Regions from separate parts of the Homo sapiens genome. Here regions 1 and 3 are each linked to region 2. The links are contacts of gene promoters, found by promoter capture Hi-C in blood cells and fetal thymus (Javierre and others, 2016). All regions are on one chromosome and are shown on one strand. Each heading gives the region's core, a stretch centred on a gene start or on the middle of the fragment in contact. The rest is flanking DNA. Distances are from core to core; before and after follow the strand shown. Region 1 overlaps RABEP1 (rabaptin, RAB GTPase binding effector protein 1). Region 2 holds the start of ZNF232 (zinc finger protein 232). Region 3 overlaps DERL2 (derlin 2).

What was found. Contacts are between HindIII fragments. The CHiCAGO score rates a contact against its expected background, and 5 or more counts as called.
Region 1: a fragment that was not itself captured here is called in contact with the fragment with the promoter of ZNF232 in region 2 in 2 of 17 cell types (naive B cells and total B cells); the score reaches 5.5 in naive B cells.
Region 3: a contact is called between a fragment that was not itself captured here and the fragment with the promoter of ZNF232 in region 2, in 1 of 17 cell types (naive B cells). The highest score is 5.0, in naive B cells.

What each region holds. Positions count from the first base shown.
Region 1 is chr17:5,384,508-5,387,207 of GRCh38, forward strand. RABEP1 (rabaptin, RAB GTPase binding effector protein 1) reads left to right here. Exons shown (of 18, transcript NM_004703.6): 18 at 1-1,833. NUP88 (nucleoporin 88) reads right to left here. Exons shown (of 17, transcript NM_002532.6): 15 at 2,477-2,603; 16 at 2,201-2,319; 17 at 326-1,762. The coding sequence ends at 1,699. Among named protein-coding and RNA genes, the nearest start is that of NUP88, 34 kb to the right of the region's middle. The HindIII fragment of the contact is 8,945 bases long and covers 1-2,700 here.
Region 2 is chr17:5,110,623-5,113,322 of GRCh38, forward strand. ZNF232 (zinc finger protein 232) reads right to left here and starts at 1,256. Exons shown (of 4, transcript NM_014519.6): 1 at 1,178-1,256. The coding sequence starts at 1,200. It overlaps ZNF232-AS1 (ZNF232 antisense RNA 1), which reads left to right and starts at 1,313. Exons shown (of 3, transcript NR_135658.1): 1 at 1,313-1,479. RefSeq lists an enhancer at 1,567-1,616. The HindIII fragment of the contact is 2,670 bases long and covers 652-2,700 here.
Region 3 is chr17:5,471,527-5,474,226 of GRCh38, forward strand. DERL2 (derlin 2) reads right to left here. Exons shown (of 7, transcript NM_016041.5): 7 at 1-2,700. Among named protein-coding and RNA genes, the nearest start is that of DHX33-DT, 3.8 kb to the left of the region's middle. The HindIII fragment of the contact is 2,819 bases long and covers 1-2,700 here.

The DNA of each region.
Region 1 (2,700 bases), core at 201-2,700, 270 kb after region 2:
GAGTTAGTGAACTAGGTAGATTGTTTTGTTCACATAACGCCACCATCAACTTAAAGTGAATTGTCTTTGTTATAAATGAGGTCACTATGGACTTACCCTAAAGATCTTCTGTACTTCTGTCTTCCATAGGACAAATGATAAGTACTACATACCTCATCTCTTGGGTTATTATTGTAGTCTTGCATTCATGGTTATGAATTTAAAAATAAATACCAATTATGGAAATAGTACTAAAGGCTTGCCGCACATGAAACATTATTTTAATTGGTTTAAAGTCCCTTTATAAAGAGTGCTACATGGTTTAGATAAAGGAAACATATAACTATTGAGTTACAGGGGATTTTATTAATTATAAAATGCAATCAATTTAAATTACGTAGGTTTAAGACTAGTCCCTTGGATAAGCCCCAAGCGAATTTGTCTTCAGATTATTAAAATTAGTGCTGTAAATCAGGGTGGGCAATTCACAGCCTTTCTGAACTGACTGAACTAGAGCTTGCAGTGAAGTGTTCTGCTGAGACTGAGCACCTTACAGATATTTTTCTCCAGAAGATGGTGCTGGGTAATAAAATCATCACAATTAGGGAATGGTTAGTGGTCTCTACTGTGGCAAATGCCAACTGTTGGAATTCACTTTATTGTAGAAAAACCCAAACTGAGACTCTTAAGTTTTGTTTAGCAATGTGTTTCTGGTATGAAACAAACTACTGTGTCACTGTCCAGGTAGGAAACAATTCTTTCAACTGGGTTTTCAGCATAAATGGGAACTGATGTAGAAGGCAGGATTTAGCCCTTCTAGGCAAAAGAAAAGCTCAGTTGGGTTTCACGAGTGTTCCTGTGCTTATATTCAGTCTGTGCCTACATGTTCTCATGCATGTCTAACCTGATTTACCTCTTACCTGTAACCTACCTTATCATGTGGCTTTTAATTGACAGTCACTCAGCCATTTCTAAGCAGATATAGTAGTACCTTTCAGAACTCACATTGGCAAGTGTAAAAAGATGACTTAAGGTGAAGTGAGGACAAAATCACATTCTGCATACTAACCTATTTTTTTCTCCCTTTAAGGTGCTAAACTTGCACCTCATGTCCACTCAGTAACAAGTATTGGGACGTAGAGCACAGCCTCACTCAGCTCTGAAAGGTAATACAGCTTGTGAGGAAGTGAGCCAGCAGTGGCCTTTGCAATTGTGGATCTTGAGCTCTGCTCTCAGCAGATTTCAGGTGTAACCATTTGTTAACTGTACTGAAGGTGTGTCCTCAAGAAGAAAGTGTTCAAATTAAAAAAGCTGCTGCCAAGTACACTGTGTGGTCTTCTCCTTTGAATCCTAGGGTTCTATCCCTCTTCAGAGTCATGTTTCTGGTGCTGCTACTTTAAAACACAGCTCACAAGAATAACTAACTTGCTCAAATATGGAGAAAACTCAATAGGGTTCAGGGAGGTTCTGGCAGTGTGCAGTGTGAAATAATCCTGAGTCCTTGCTGAACACAACTGTAGGCTTGAGTTATAAAGCACATTCCAAATTTTAAATAAAAGCATTTACTCAATTATTATAAAACAACATATTTAAAAAGATGAACCACACCAAAGGTCATCAAAACACCTTTTTATAAATTAGATAATTCTACCTGTTTTACAATATGGGTTTAAGCCTTCAATGGTGTTCAGTTCAGGTGTGAGTCAGCTCCTGGTGGTGTCAGAAGTTTACATGATTGCGGATATCATTGATTTGCTTCACCATTTCCCTTATATGTTCACCCCTGTAAAATTGTAAAGTCACTCACTTTTGGAATTATAATAAACCATTTATATGGATTCTTAAGAATTTAAACTGGTAATGTTGAAACATCTAAGAACTGCTTTGCTAAAATTAACAGCTGAAGGTTTCAGGTGGATAGCAATAGTGTTCACTATTCATTTAAGGTGGCAAACGGTGCAAGTACTGGAAATATTTTTGAACATAATTACTGTAAAATACCTTTGGCCACACAACAAAATCATGTTACTAGAAGGTCATCCCTTTCAATCCTCCCACCATAGTCATTTCTTAAGTCCCTATGTATCATGTGGCTCTCATCCCAGTAATTACTTGACATGCAAATACCAAGATTCAGGTTTCTATTAAGACAGGTTGATTCTGGCATACTGTAAAGGAAAAACTATCTCACGATAATAGCTGATTGGAAGTATTTACTTACTCCTCTTTCAGGATGGACTGAATGCACTTTCGCTGGTAGGCACTGAGAATAATGGTGGGTTTTGGAAGACTCAACACCTTCTCCATCTTTTGCTGTTGATAATCCTTTTTCATAGTAACCTTAAGTATTAAAATAATAGATATTTTGGCAGTGGTTTGCCACACATTTTCACAGTATCTATTTGAATCTGTTCTTTTTACATTTTTGTAAAATTTTCTGTAGAATAAGTGCTTTAAGAAAAATTACCAAATTTAGCTAGTTTGGATCTATTCCTACCTGTTTGATGGCATTGCCCAAATGTCGAAGTTGATCAGGTATCAGCTGTAATTCTTTCTTCATGTCTCGCTCACTATCAGAGAGAACTGGGAGCTCAGAGTGAAAACTGTGAAGTAGTTTTTTCATCCTTTAGAAAAGGCAAGCAAACATCTCAATTTAAGGTCTCTACTAATTAGGAGAAACATAATCACAAGCTCATAATTCATGAATCTGGTGTTTCTGAA
Region 2 (2,700 bases), core at 6-2,505:
TAAGTCCCCTTTAAGGAGCTGGATCTCATTCAAATGCCAAAGCCCTATTAAGGGGCAGCTATGAACAAGTCTCGGGTACAGTGGCCTGCGTCAAGGAAATCTAACAGGTGTAAACCAAAAAAGCATCTGAGATAGGTCTCAACCAATTTAGGGGTTATTTTGCTAAGGTTGAGGATGCACCCAGGAAAAAGACACACAAGCCACAGTAGGATCCGTGGCTCGCACTTTTACCAAAGAGGGTTTTGAGGGCTTCAATTTAATGGGGAGAAAGCTGGCAGGAGGGGAAGGAGGAGAGAAGAGGGAGGGTATGTGGTGAGGTAAGTGGCCACATTCTTGTGAGGATTTGATTAGAGCTCACTGAATCCACATGTTGCACGTGAAAAGAGGAAGTCAATTATGAATTTGTCTCGTGCTCAGTAAATCTGCATTTTACACAAGATAAGGTAGACATACAGTAGAGGAAGAAGTCAAATATGCTTTGTCTCTGGGTGGGTGGAGGAACGATTTCTAGTCTTGTCCGGTGAAGCTCGGCTGTTCGTTTCCATTGCCAGGGTGAGGGAGGCCACCTGGGGGCATATGTTGCTTTCTATCTTGCAGCTATCGGTTTAGGAACAAAAGGAAAAGCAGTTTTTTTCCGTGACTCAGTTTCCAAGCTTAACTTTTCCCTTTGTCATAGTAAGTTTGGGGTCCTGAGATTTTATTTTCCTTTCACACAGGGAAGGAGGTGGAACGCATCAGAGGCCACGAAAGGAGCACAAAGGGGGACCGCTGGCCTAAGACAAAGGAGGCGCGAGGAAAAACGCGGAGCTCGCGTCTCCCAGGGTGATGCCCGGCGCCGCTGGCCCCAGCAAAACTTCTCTACCCCGGCCTCGGGCAGGTGCCCGCCCGGGGAGGGGGCTGTCGTCCAGGCCAGGTACAACTCCCCTTCCCACCCTTCACTCCCTACCCAAGGGTCTCGAGAAAAGAGAAGAGGAACATCAAGACCCCCCTCCACGGCACGTGACGCGACGCAACGCAGGTAGCGCAGCGCGGGCACCACGGGCAACCCAAACCCCTCTCCACACACAACCGCGGAGCTGCCTGCCAGGCCTGCTCACTGCAGAGCCGCCGCTGCCTGCGGGACGGGCAAAAGCCAAGCCGCCAGGTGGACCTCGGGGAAGCCGCCGCCAACACTCACCTCACAGGACCAGGAGGTTCCATCGGGGCGCTGCCGCGAATCGCGCCACTTACAGCCCTCACCCCAGGGGCAGGTTTGCGCCTGCGCAGGTCGCAGCCTCGGCCTCCAACTCCCAGAATCCTCCTCGCCGCCGGCTTCCGTTCGCGGACTTTGGCCCAGGCGCGTGGGCGCTGCCGAGAGGCTGGGAGCCCGGGAACCGGTTCCTGGACTTGAGCGGAGCGAGAAAGAGCGCGCCGCCTGCACGACTGGACTGGAGCGGCCGGGTGCCCTGGAGGCCCCTGGGAATTGCAGTCCTTGCGCAGGTGGAGAGTGAGCCCTTGTAAGCGGGTGACTTCATCAAGTTTGGGGGGTCTCTTGTGGAATTGTACCTGAAGGGCGGTGCTGGCGGACAGATGTCAGGGAAATTCTGGCCTTGTCCATGGCCTGTGGTAACACTTCTCCATGAGTTCTATTTTCCAATTACCTCTTCCCAGACCTGATGAGAGGGCCACAGCTAAGGAAGACGGTCCCTTCCACGAAAAAATATTCCCCAACCACTAGCCTGTACAATTCCTGGGGCGTAGGGGGAGGGGAGGAGAAAAAAGAATTCTAAGGTTAATTTTATTGCGATGGGGGAAATAGGGGTTGGTGTTTTTTTGTTGTTGTTATTTTTTATTTTATTTATTTATTTGAGACGGAGTCTTGCTCTGTCGCCCAGGCTGGAGTGCAGTGGCGCGATCTTGGCTCACTGCAAGCTCCGCCTCCCGGGTTCACGCCATTCTCCTGCCTCAGCCTCCTGAGTAGCTGGGACTAGAGGCGCCCGCCACCACGCCCGGCTAATTTTTTTTTTTTGGTAGGAGACACGGCGTTTCACCATATTAGCCAGGATGGTCTCGATCTCCTGACCTCGTGATCCGCCCGTCTCGGCCTCCCAAAGTGCTGGGTTTACAGGCGCCCGGCCGATTATTTTTTATTTTTTTTTTGAGACATGGTGGCCAACATGGTGAAACCCTGTCTCTATTAAAAATACAAAAAGGTTAGCTGGGCGTGGTGGCGGGCGCCTGTAGTCCCCACTACTCAGGAGGCAGGAGAATCGTTTGAACCCGGGAGGCAGAGGTTGCAATAAGCTGAGATTGTGCCACTGCACTCTAGCCTGGGCGACAGAGTGAGACTCCGTCTCAAAAAAAAAATTAATTAAAAATAAATTTATCTCACTATCAATTTTGCAGGATATTGATTGATCCAGTCTCTCAATACTTTTATAAAATAGCTTAATCCTAGTCTCTCCAAGAAAAATTGTTGTTCAACTGTGTAGTACCATAGTAACAGTTCTCAGATTCTCAGATTATTAAATTTGTTTCTCCAAGATATAGTATCCTTGAAAATGCGCATTGACACCCCCATGGCTGGGGGATATATTATCTTTTTTCCTTCAAAGTGCCATTGATAATTACTGCACGTAGGAGCTATGGATAAAAATAGTTATCATTTGTTGAATGTCTACTACGTGTCTAGAACTATGCCAGGAACTTAATGAAATTGTC
Region 3 (2,700 bases), core at 96-2,595, 360 kb after region 2:
CAGGAACAAGGCCAGGCCTTGAAGAACTGAAGAGACTTAAGTTGAGGTCCCTGTTAGGTAGAAGTGGGAGTAAAGTTAAGAAAAAAACAAGTATGCATATAATGTAGGGGCTTACTAAGAAGTCACTGTGGATTTCTGAGCAGAGGAGTGACTTGATCATACAAGATTCAACAATTTTATTGCAAACTCATAAAATATGTTTAAGTAGCCTGGAGACATCCTACAGAACACAGAAAATAATGGCAGGATCATGACTAACAACATAGCTGGAACTCACCTGTCAAAGAAAAACAGCTACAACATAAAACACTGGCAGGATAGATGACAATAGTTCTAGGAAGCCCATTACTCAACATGGCAATAGCTCCAATGCTTCCTTATTTTCAGAGGCCCCAGAGACTGAGGGTTTCATTATCCAGACCCAGGACTTAGGTGTTCTGCTTCTAGAGACTACACAAGAGGTATGAAAGATATGAGGACATACAAGAGTGACACAGAAAAAACAAGAGGAAGAGAGAAACAAATAGAAATCCATACTGGAAAAAAACGCACCGAAATGTATATAAAATGTATCTCCTAAGGAGATGCAATTTGTATGTCCATTTATTTTTAAATGAACGTATACCGTATTTCCATAACAAACAAAAAACACTATGCTTTAGTCAAGTGTGCTTTTCAGTATCACTAGAAGAATCCAGGAATCCCTCAAATTATGTGTAAGGTTAGTTGGTTGGTCTCAAAATTCCATGTATCAAATCTCACTTTCAGTTTATTTGCATTGTGAAAGGGAAGTGTGTTCTGGAAGAACTAAGATTGAGAGGTAAATTGGGGAGAAAGTAAGGACTTTTCCTTATGTCCATTCAAGCACAGGTATCCTGTCAAGCAACACAGGGCTAGGAATGGTGGTTGTAGGGCTGGCCAAACTGATGAGAGGTGATTGAAATTACCACTGCTCAGGACACAGTGTAGTCAGTCACACAGCAGGGCATCCTGCCACTGGGAACTTGCACCCTATAAAATCGGAGAAATCAAAAACCCTGTAACTGCCTGCCTTTAGGCTGTATATTCAAAATGTATTTCCTGTTTTACCTAGTCATTAATGTATACAGATATTCCCTACTTAAATGAACAGTGAGTTAACAGATTTTAGGATTAGTATTTTACCACAAAAATGCCATTCATTGCATAACTCCAACTCAGGGAGAACAAATAAAACTAGAGAAACTCATTTCTAGCCCAAAAACAATTTAAAAAAAAAAAACAAAAAACAAAATTCTAACAAACGTCACTGATAAAGCGTTCTTGAGCAAAAACAAGATAGGATAAAACTTAAGAATCCCATAAGGATTATACATGCTAAGATTGGCTTTTAAACTTTGAAAACCTTTTTTAAACTGCTTAAAAAGCAGTCCCATAGACCCAGGTTCCATAAAATTGCAACAATCATATTCAAAGTTATTAGCAACATGTAAAATACTTAAATACCATTAGTTATGCAATTCCATTTAAAGACATTAAAACACTTTTCACTTCAAAAACAATCTGAAAATTCCTATTTAGGATGTCCATTATGTTTAAGCCTATGTCTATCTTTCTGAGGACAATGTCACATTCTGGAAAGCTACCCCTTAACAAAGGTTGAATGAACTACTACTAACAATCCACTTTTGGGAAAGGGACCTGTGCCTACATGCCGTTAATGAAAGCTGTTTGGAATCATCTCTTTCCTAGGGGTGCTCTTTCGACTCTTCCAGGTTCTGGAAGTTACTTAAGCAGTGTGAATGCAAACCTGCTGAGACTCAGGGAAGACTTAATATTTAGGGGAAGTATTTATTGAACCACAGCATTAAGTGTCTACTTCTGTGGACCCTGTCTAATTTCTACCTGATTGGGAAGGTAATCCAGGTACTTGGCTCTGAAAAGGTTCTTGAATTTTCACGAAGCAAATGACTAATGTTAACTAGCCAAAGACCCTGGAAGAACATATGCCTAGCTAACTGGTATCTGTTCGTCTGGCTCCAAAGTCAACATTCTAACTTGGTTTCCAAATCTAATGAAAATCTGAGACCCTGTCTCTATTTTTTTTTTTTAATTAAAAAAACAAAAAACAAAACAAAACAAAAAAGGCAAAAAAAAAAAAAATGGCTGGGCATGGTGGCTCATGCCTGTCATCCTAGCACTTTGGGAGGCTGAGGTGGGAGGATTGCTTGAGTCCAGGAGTTCAAGACCAGCCTGGGCAACACAGTGAGACCCCATCTGTATTTAAAAAAAAATTTTTAATTAAAACTTTTTTAAAAATAAAAGAAAAAAAAAGTCTAATGAAAATCTTCCTAGTTTTACAAAAATGTGGCCCTTACCAATCTTTCCCTGGATACTTCTTAATGGAGAAATGTAAGTAAAGCAAATAAGATGCCACATTAGCTTACAGCTGACTTTCCTATAGCTGAATTCCTACTGCTACAAGAACCATCCTCCCTCCTTTTTTTTCATGTTGTCTGACAAAGTTTGGCAAAACCCAGATGCAAAACAACCTATCCAGATGACAGAAATAAATCATCTTCCTGCTGAATCTTGCATTCTGAGTTAGTAAGATGTACACAACCACAGCATGACAGCCACGTATTTCCAATCCTGAAATGAAATCCAGTTAAAAGTTGTGAAGACACAGGAAGAACAGCTGTGTAAACTGTTCTGAGCTCA